2 separate regions of the Homo sapiens genome follow, and region 1 is linked to region 2. The links are contacts of gene promoters, found by promoter capture Hi-C in blood cells and fetal thymus (Javierre and others, 2016). All regions are on one chromosome and are shown on one strand. The core of a region is centred on a gene start or on the middle of the fragment in contact, and the rest is flanking DNA. Distances in the headings are between cores, read along the strand shown. Region 1 has its middle 120 kb from the start of CDCA7L. Region 2 holds the start of DNAH11 (dynein axonemal heavy chain 11).

Region 1 (4,918 bases), core at 229-2,728, 520 kb before region 2:
ATTACAGGCGTGAGCCACCGCACCCGGCCGACAAAGATCCTTTGTCTCTAGAGCTTTTATACTAAAAGGTTTTATGTATTAAACCCTATCGCATTCTTGGCTATTTGGAAATATCAATGGAATGTAAATATTTCATTGGTCTATAAGTTGCAAACCAATAACCAGAATTGTTAGTATAAACTTTCTTCCCTTACCTCAAAGAACTCAGATACATTGAATGTATTCCGAGCTACATGTGAAATGTTTTGTTGTTCATGGGATGTCGACCCCTAAGGGTTGTACTCACTTTGTACTCACTTTGCCTTACAAAGAGTATTCAAAGAGACCAGTGGTTAGTAATAGCTAAGGAGATTCTAAAACTGACTCTATCATTCCTTTCTCTTACACTAGAAAACCAAATTTTTTGGTTTTTTGGTTTTTTGTCGGCAAAACTGTATGTGGTGTGATTACTATTGCACTGTCTGACTCCCACACTCATGTTATTCTTCTAAAATGGAAAGTTCCTCTCCCACCTCTATCCACCCCCATAAATCCTCCCTATCCACTCAATTCAACTTATCCTTCCCTCAAGGTTCCCATCTCATCCATGATAACAACCCATTCTATGCTAACCCTTGTTCATTTCCCCTTCTCTGAATCCATCACACATTTAGAGTAGTCAATGATAGCCATCCATTTATTTATTCAACATTTATTTATTGGCTACCCTGATCTGCTCCAGGCACTCCAAAATTAGATTTAATCATATATTGTCTTGTGGGGTTTAACGATAATTGTGATATGTTCATCTTGTCTTTTCAACAAAATGTGCGTTTTCCAATGTGACAAACCATGTCTGAGGCCACCATTAGCCACACAGTGCTCTGTGTGAGTTGGACAAGGAGCCTCTTCTGTGTGTGTGGCATGGAGAGAGAACTCCCTGCTTACCCCTCACCTGTGCACCTTCTGTCTGCCCTGGAACACCGAAACAACCGTATGAGAGAGCCCAAGCATTGAACACTGCCGCAGCAAAGGGAAGGCACCTCAAAGCTTGACAACTAACTCATTTTGTTTAAGATGTAGATAGTCCTCAGTTATCATTAATAACAGAATTAATCTTCCTAGCTTTGGATTAGCCAGGCTCTCAATTTCAATTCCTATATTACAAGTCCGATGTAAGGACACAGCATCGAGTCTTTGTTAAGCACTCAGTTCTCATTGGGGTGATAACAAAATTTTCCTTCCAAACCTGGACACTTGTGAGAGGAGGTGCACACCAAGACACCAAGAATTAATGGGGACTGTCACAGGCAAACTGGGATGTGTGTATCCTAATGTCTGCAGTAGTAAAATAAGGAGTACCTCTCGCTGCCCACTGTTTAAGAAGGTATCAGCTCTAGTCTCTGACGATACAGGGCAAAGGAGGACAACCTGCCTCCTACATTAGGACAGGATAGGAGATCATCAAGGCCTGTAGCCCAGTGTTCATTCAGTTTTAGAGTCGAGTGGGCTGTGATGAGTCTAACATGTAGTCCTAAATAGTCATCATACTCTCTACTACCCTGGCCCTTTTGGGTAAGTACTAGGACTTTCCGCCCCAGTAAGAGGCTGCCCCCCGCCACCTTGCAAATCCTCCCTTGTGATCCCATTTTCAGTCCTGATCACTACCATCCACCATGGTCATTTTAACAGCTCAACACCCACAGAGGTGTGGAGATATAACTCTCCAGAGAAAGAACTTCAGAGCAAAAGTCCTCTTTAGCCAATGAAGCAGCCCTTGGTATTCACTTGATAAATACTAATTGGATATCTGACTGTGAGAGAAAAACCCAGCTTCTTTCCATCCCATACTGGAGGTGGAAAGGGACTGGAACTACAGAGATCCTGTGATTTCTCTCTCCAAGGCAAAGGAAGAAGCTCCACCTTAAGATGTCATGAAAGAAGCTTGGAAGAAAGTCAGGATTATCTATTTCTTAGGAGCTTCTTTAATCTCAAGATCAAGAGATTTCACTCAATTCCAGCTTCCTTCTAAGAAAGTTTCACTCTCTAAGTCTTTCAAACGTGGAGGACGTCTTTCAGGAACTTTGAATCTATTTAAGGACATGCCAAAATATTTCTGACCCAGAACCTTTTTAGACTAGGAAACTCACATGCAATACACATACACAAGGTTCTCTATATTTATGCGTATATGTGTATCTCCTCTCTATACAAATAGACAAGCACCTTTTATCTTGATAAAGAAAGCACGTTCTATTCATAGGAAAATGGTTGGGTCAGGCTTTCTGGGCTTTTTGTTTGTGCGCCACAGGGTGCCTAATAGCACTGCAGGGGCAGGCATCCAGTGTCACGCCAACCACCTACAGCATGCGTGGTGCCAGAGGCAGCGATGAGAGCACTAATTAGAGGGTGTCAGGAAACAGGAGAGAAGGAAGGGACACACACACACACAAAAGCATGAAACTTTCCATGAAGATGGAAAGTAAAGCGGGATGGGGTTCTCCTTTTTATTTTTGGTGGGAATTCTCTGCTTTTGGACTGTACTTCCTTCAAAAGAGTACCTTCTCATTTTACAGTTTACAGCAGAGCTGGGTTTGTAGAAATTGCTGGATGATCTTTTGAACGTTGGCTACCTGCTTAAAATAAACATTGTTTCAATCTGCTTTTATCTACATATGCATCACAGTGACACCTTCTACTCTATAGCAGCCATTGCTGACAGAACGTATATTCAAGAGTCTTCATGAAGATTCCCCGGTGTTGTAAAATTGGTCCTATGGCCTAGCACTGACTGTCTTCCTAGGGACCATTTGTAGCTTTGTGTTTTCATAGACGTTACATTTTTATTTAAGTGGTCCAAGCCCCCTCACCCTGGATGGTTATGTTGATGAACAAAGTAGATTCTACCTGTTATAAAGGTATCATTACTAATGCTACTAATAAATTGCAATGACTTCCAGCATCTAAAGATTTGGATGGTTCCAGTTATACACTTGACATTATTTTCCTGGATCTGATATTGCCTATTTTCCCCTGCAAGCAGTTGTCATCTTTTCTAGTTGAGCCTTTTACAACCCTATTTGAATATAAAAATCATTTAGGAATGTTAAAAAAAAATTACCAGTGCCTAAGTCTCACTCTAGACCAGTGAAATCAGAGCCTGTGGAGAGGATGTCAGAGAATTGGTTTCTTTACAAGTTATCCAGATAATTCCAGTATTCAGCGGGGGCCGAGAACTACTAGCTGTCCTCATCACGTCTGTGAGTGGCCTGCTTGGCCCCACTATCTCCTCCTTTGCACAAAATGCCACCCACTGCTTAATCAGCCTCTTTATGATTCTTAATCAGATCACCAGGGCCAGGACCAGGGGGACCTGAATGAGACAAAATTTAATGAGACACTCACTCTCTTGCCTCATCCTAGTCCTGGCCTGCAAACCAACTGACCTTCACAGAACCTTGCACTTGATTGTCCTTGAACTAAAAGCATTTACCTCCTAATTTATCTCCCGCCATCTCCATTGAAACCTGCCTTATTTCCTCTACCTGATTTGACAATCCTGTGCAGCAAATGTCATTTTAAGGAAAAACACCTTCTATGGGTAGAGCTGTTTTACTTCCACGATGATTAAATGATATAATTTACTTTGGATGGCTGTTACAGACCCTGGATATTGTAACAGTTGTCAGTTTTCTTTCCTTTAGACCCTCATTTCCGATTGCCCACTGCCTTCCCCTCCACCCAGAGGTCCCACCCCTACCTCAGATGAACATGTCTGAAACTCACCTCATTAGCCTTCCCTCCAGACGTCCTGCTTCTAAATCCTCCTCTCCCCCATTCCCTATCCTGGTGACTCACTCTTCTTTCTACCCCACTACACCAGACCAGAATTCTAGAAGACATTCTGTTATGCATCCAACCAATCCAACTCCAACACCTGCTAATGCTACCCTCTCAACATTCTTCTGAGCTGTTTCCATAAGTAATACCACCCATTTCCTGAACCTACCATGTTCTCTCATGCCCCTTTGCAAATGTTACATTCTTGCCCAGTGAGTTCTTTCAACGCTTGTCAGACAAGTGCATAGTCTTTCTGACCTAGTTAATGGCCACCTCCCATGGGAAACCGTCTTTGAACCCTCTAGTCAATGATCTCTCCAGTTCTGAGTCCCCATTGCCCCAAGTGGATGCCTCCAGTAGAGCTTTTATCATATTTACTGTAATTTTCTGTGATATGACTCTCTCTTCTCCCTGAAACCCTGGATTCCTTGGAGACAAGAGCCACTTTTCATTTATCTCTGTAGCCCCAGTCTTTAGCCCAGTTAATGACAGCTAACAAATTTACAGTGGATGTTTCTTAAGTGGGAGAATAGTTTAGTGGCACTAAAGAGTAAGTACCCTTTAACAGTGAGTTAAACTACGTGAAATCAAACACTTCAGGACCACTATTTGCTAGTTGCATGAATCTAGGCAAGTTATTTTAACTCTCTCTGCTATAGTTTTTTTTAACCTATAAATTGATATAATAATAGGACCTACCTCATGGGATTATTGTGAACATTAAATGAGCTAATAACTTTAAAGTACTTTCCAATCCTGAGATTTAAGAACTCTATAAAAATACTCCCTCTCTCCCCATCCCCAGCAAATGTACATATGAAGTTATGGACGATGAGAGCCTTTTTGAGATCACTTGCAGCACCTAACTCAATGTAGTGCTTAAGATCAACTATTTCATAGGACAGTTGTGAGGATGAATGTAGTACTACCTGTAAAGAACTTAGAACAGTGCCTGATACATTACATAGTAAGTGCTCAAGAAACAACAGCTATTCTTATCATCATTATTGCCACTTCCCTCCCTAATTCCTTCAATAGCTCTCCAATGTTAACTTAATTAAGTCCAAATTCTGCAGCCCAAGAATATGACGATATTCCT
Region 2 (5,035 bases), core at 732-3,231:
GCATCTCTTGGAATCTAAAACAAGAGCAAGATAATTAGTTCAAGTAGTTTTCTTGTTAACAAGCAGGATTTACTATATCCAACTTGTAGCTGTATTGCTAGCAGAAGAAACAAAACCTGGCATCTTGCCTGCCCTATAAACAAGGTCCTTCTACGGCTCTTCCCTAGTATGCAGCGAGTATACAGTTTTCTTTGTTCTTTTATAATGCTAATTTCACAGCATTACTGGTGTGGAAATATCACCTTTTAAAGGCATGCCAATTATACCAGTTCATTATACACCAAAAAAAAAATCTTATAACTAAAAACAAATAAGGAGCACGTAGGCATGTAGAAATGTTTCAATCCTAAAGGGTTATTTTTTATACTCTTCTCTGGTTTGGAAATAAGCCAAACTGAGATAAAGACAAGCCCAAGAGGTTAATTTGTATTTCTATCAAAGAATAGAACCGTATAACCAAAACATGCTAACATTTCCACAACTACTGAGTCATTCCATTGAACATTATAATAACTATTTAACTTAGGTAATACTAGAGTTGTGTTCTATCGCCTTGTCTACTGACAAACTTATTTTTTTTAAAGTTACAATTAGGAGAGTCCTAAAACAAAAGAATTCAAAATTCACAATACCATAAGGCAGCCTTCCTATTACTCTTTCTTCTCTGAGATCCTATTTCCCAACTATTACAATGACCACACCTAGTGATAAAACGACATAACATGTTAAACTGAGCATTGCGCTACTTAAAAATTGTGAATCTTGCTCCAAACTCATCATACTTGAAAAATACTAAATACAAGTGCTGTACGTTAGGTGATACGTTAACCTTTTAGTGGACAAATCATCGAAATTCAAAAAGAAAAGGAAGAAAAAGAAGAAAGGAGGGAACTGTTCCCTCTAAATGTTCAGTAAACACCCATGTGTGCGGAGATTGCAGGGGCCTTCCTTTTTAAGGACTTAATGTTTTTGCCTGGGGTGAAGTGTTGTTGGCACGTAATCAAAATACGTGACGAGTTACATGCGCTCTGCCAAACACCCCATTTTTTAAAGGATGTGACTCCAGAGTGACCCAAGAGCAACTGAAACGCAAGTTTTTTGGCACAGAAAGCCCACCTGGCGCCTAACACCCAAGCAGCTAAAGAAAGCGCTGGTGTTCTTGGGTTATCCTGGTCGAACAGGCTCAACGCGGGATTCTCGGTCAGATACAAACTGCTGACTTAGGAAACTAACCTGCAGCTGCTGAACTGCAGAGTGGGTGCACGTGGGGAGGAGTCCTGCGGGCCTCAGGATGGGGACTTCAAGCCAAGTTTGTTAAAGTGCCCGAGTGAGCGCCCCGCGGGAATCCAAAGGGGAGCGACTGGGCTGTCTCCCCTGGGTAGTTTTGTTGGATGGGCAGGTCCCCTTGCCCGTCGCCTCTTACCTCCTGGGAAGCCGCAAGGCGCCCCGAGGCGGCGAAGCTAAACACAAGGCAAGCCGGGCTGGTGCTTTCCAGAAACTCCCCAAGAACCTGCCGGTTGTCCTCGCTTTCCAAATACTGGCTCCATTTCTCCTCCGTGAACCCCAGCATCATCGCCAGGCGGCCGCCGAGGAAGCGCACCCGCGCGTCTTGGGCGAAACTCCGCGCTCTCCTGGCCGCCGCCTCCTCCTCGTTCTCCTCCTCCTCCTCGAGCTCCACAGCGCCCACTGCCTCCAGGCCGGCCCCCGAGGTTAGGCGAAGGGTCGGGGCTTCTCTGAAGTCTCGCGCCTCCCGGGCTGCCACCTGGGCTGCCATTGGGCAACCGTCCGAGGGAACGCGAGGCCGGCTGGCTCCTCACCCGAGACTCTGGGCCCCCCGAAGTGAGCGAGGACACCTCCGCAGGCGCCCACCCTCCTCCGCGGTCGCCGCGAGCGCAGACCCTAGTCTCCCACCTGCTGCTACTTAGCAGCCGCGCCACTGCGCACAGCTGTAGCCTCGCAGGCCGAAGCGAAGGCCTGGGACAAGCAGCGCGTCCCGTTTCCCGGGGGACGGTGTCCCCGCCCCAGCCCGCTGGGGGCGGAGTGAGCGCACCGCGCCACCGCCCAGTATACGCCAAGGCCAAGGCCGAGGGGAGAGGCCCTCGGGCTCTAGGTCCCGAACACGGCCGAGAAGCCGCGTGTCCGGGGTGGGTCTGAGCCCCCAGTGCGCTCGCTCCACTGCCCTCCGGCTCCTTCGCCTACTGGACACTTGGTGGAGATCCCAGCATTGGTTAAGTGCTCTGGATGAAGCAATGCTCTCTTGTGCCAAGGTCCGTGCTAATCTCTTACCTTGACTAGTTGACATAATCCGTAGAAAGCCAAGTCTCTGACTGGTCAGTCTTTGTTTTATGGGCAAGGAACTAAGTTACAAAAATAAGTAACAGAGAAGTTTCGGGGCCCAAGTTGAAGGCTGTTATTCACCTTTCCCAAGGTGTCCAAATATTACCAGAAGAGAGCCAGTCCTGCAATTCAACTTTCCTAGTTGTGGGAATCCAAGATCTAAGTATTCGAAGTCCTCCTGATTGCCATCCTCAACCTGAAACTTACTGGAACTTCAGTACACCCAGTAAGAGAACGCACAGTGCCCTTTCGTGATCTCCAAAATGTTCCGAAAATCTATAGATTTATCATTTAATTCAAGAGTAAAAAGGTCAAAGAGAAAAAGCTTCAGATTAAAAACAGTTTCATGATACTGAAATAGGATTTCACTGCGGTCCATTAGTGGCTTTCGTTGAGACTCTTATGGAAATTCTAATTATTAAAGCAACCAGAATTTTGAGGAGGAGTCCTCAACTAAACTTTTAAGTCTCCTTTGTTAATTGTTTATTTCAAACTAAAGTCTTCAATCCCCACCCCTTCCATGGGGGCTACTGAAGGACTGTTGCCCACAATAATCCATTTAATACCTGAATGTTGACAGACATTTCCAGAAGATGAGGCTTCAACAATTTTTTTCTTTGCAGGATATTAACTGCCCCTGAAAACCATCGACAAGTTTCCAGTTATGTGATCAGAATCTTGAAATAACACAGGGCCTTGGAAAACTTTGATAATGACTTCTAACCTGTCAAGGCTGCTTTATATTGTCCATAATAATCTTTGGGGCTCCCAGTTGCTGGTATACAAGGCTGGCAATCACCAGTTCCTTCTCTCCCCTCTTATATTCCAGCTTCACATCCCTGTAACCTAGAAAACCGGGAATTCTGTAAATAATAGTTGAATTAAATTGAAAGTGAATAACCACTTTCAAATCTAGCAGGAAAATTTTTTAAATGATGCTAACTTTAAAGTGCAATTTCCAAAAAGTTAACTATGTAACTCGAAATATAAGATGAAGATATGTCAAAGATTGATTTAACTCATAAATGAGGAAAGCAACAAAATGATGTAAGTTCCAAGGACAGTTCGAGAAAGAAATTTAGCAGCATTGGAGGAAGACAGGATGAGTCAGCTTGCTAGGTTCAAAACAACACTCACTAATGTCATACAGGGCAAAATAATCCTTTGTTTTTTAAAAAATAATTTGTTTTTCCAAAATAAATTACATCTGTATTGAACAAAAATCTGTAAATAAAAACGTAACTTCAGAGTTTGAGACTTCGATCAGTAGTAGTTAATGAGTCCAAAAAAGATACTTTTCCCTAAATAATTAATAATCCTTTCATTGGCCGGTGAAGCAGTGTTTCAATGTGACAGTGAATGAACATGGCTTTACCTTGTTCCCAAGTTTTATGTATTTTTTCTCAATAATAATAGCTAACATTGATCAAGTACCAATTATGTGCCATGTGCTGTGCTGAGTTCATTCATTTGTCTAACAAATCTTTACTGAATGCCTACTAAGTGCCAAGCACTGTTCTAGGTGCTGGGAAATATAACAGAAAACAAAACAGATTAAGTTTCTACCCTCATATTGGAGATACAGGCTAGATTTCTACTGAATAGAGTGGAGCTATACCAACTGAATTTGCATTCCATTTCTATTTTCTAGGTGCCTGAGTTTCCTCACCAGAAATAGGAAAAAAAAAATGGTAGATGAGACTATTTTTTAGCAAATATCTCTCCCCCAACCCCACCTTCATGAAAAGAGTATGCTTATACCTTTTTGTGCTATTAAAGTTGTGGCTGGCCATGTGACTTGCTTTGGTCCATAGGATATTGGCAGACATAACAAACAGAGGCATCGCTTCTTTTGGCTAAGATCAAGTGTAGTAGCAAACAGATGCTTGGAATGTCTTTGCATGGTGAGGCTTGCCTTCTTGTGCCTCTGCCACTGTCTTGAGAAGAACATCCCTAGTTAGCTTGCTAATGCAGGGAACCAGCCTGGACCCGACTTTTGTAGCTCAGAGGCAAGTCCAGCGAAGGCTAGTCTTGATCAATCTACTCTCAGTCAGCCCACAGATGCATGAAAATAATGAATGATTATTGGTTTTAAGCTACATAGTTGTGGTGAGGTTTGTTATGTAGTGATAGTATGGTAATAGTAAATGATACACCACATCATAGAGTTGTTGGGAGAAATAATTCAGCTTAAATATGTTAAAAGCACAAACAGGCCAACGCCTGGCACATTTATTATTAGTTGTGGAGGGGGAAACATGAGAAACTAGGCAAGCAAAGATATAATATGTTTATTATGTCAGATGTGACAGGAAATTAAATTTTGGGACTCTAAACTCGTTTAGCCAATGGGAAAAGTCAAGCTGGGAACTGGGTCATGCAAATCTGCCTCTCCCTTTTCGTTCCTAAATAAGATGGCTACAAGATGAAAGGCTACATGCCTCCCCCATATTTTGCCCACAGGGAAATTATGGGTGAGCTGTTAAAACTTCACCATAGCAATGCAAATTGATAGCTTGTCTTTCCAGGTGCAATCACCCACCAGACACAAATGCATATCTGATTGTTCCCCTACCCCATTTTGTTATCTTATGTAAAATGCGATTCCTCACATTCTTCCTCTGCCCCCTTTTGTTTATGTGAAAACCTGTGTGCTTCTCAATATCCCGCCCTTTCCCCTTTAAATTTGGAGCCCTCA

Evidence for each region. Contacts are between HindIII fragments. The CHiCAGO score rates a contact against its expected background, and 5 or more counts as called.
Region 1: a contact is called between a fragment that was not itself captured here and the fragment with the promoter of DNAH11 in region 2, in 1 of 17 cell types (naive B cells). The highest score is 5.2, in naive B cells.

What each region holds. Positions count from the first base shown.
Region 1 is chr7:22,064,086-22,069,003 of GRCh38, reverse strand. No RefSeq gene overlaps it. Among named protein-coding and RNA genes, the nearest start is that of CDCA7L, 120 kb to the right of the region's middle. The HindIII fragment of the contact is 894 bases long and covers 1,032-1,925 here.
Region 2 is chr7:21,539,985-21,545,019 of GRCh38, reverse strand. DNAH11 (dynein axonemal heavy chain 11) reads right to left here and starts at 1,981. Exons shown (of 82, transcript NM_001277115.2): 1 at 1,424-1,981; 2 at 1-14. The coding sequence starts at 1,774. RefSeq lists a silencer at 2,060-2,109 and an enhancer at 2,158-2,659. The HindIII fragment of the contact is 2,819 bases long and covers 1-2,664 here.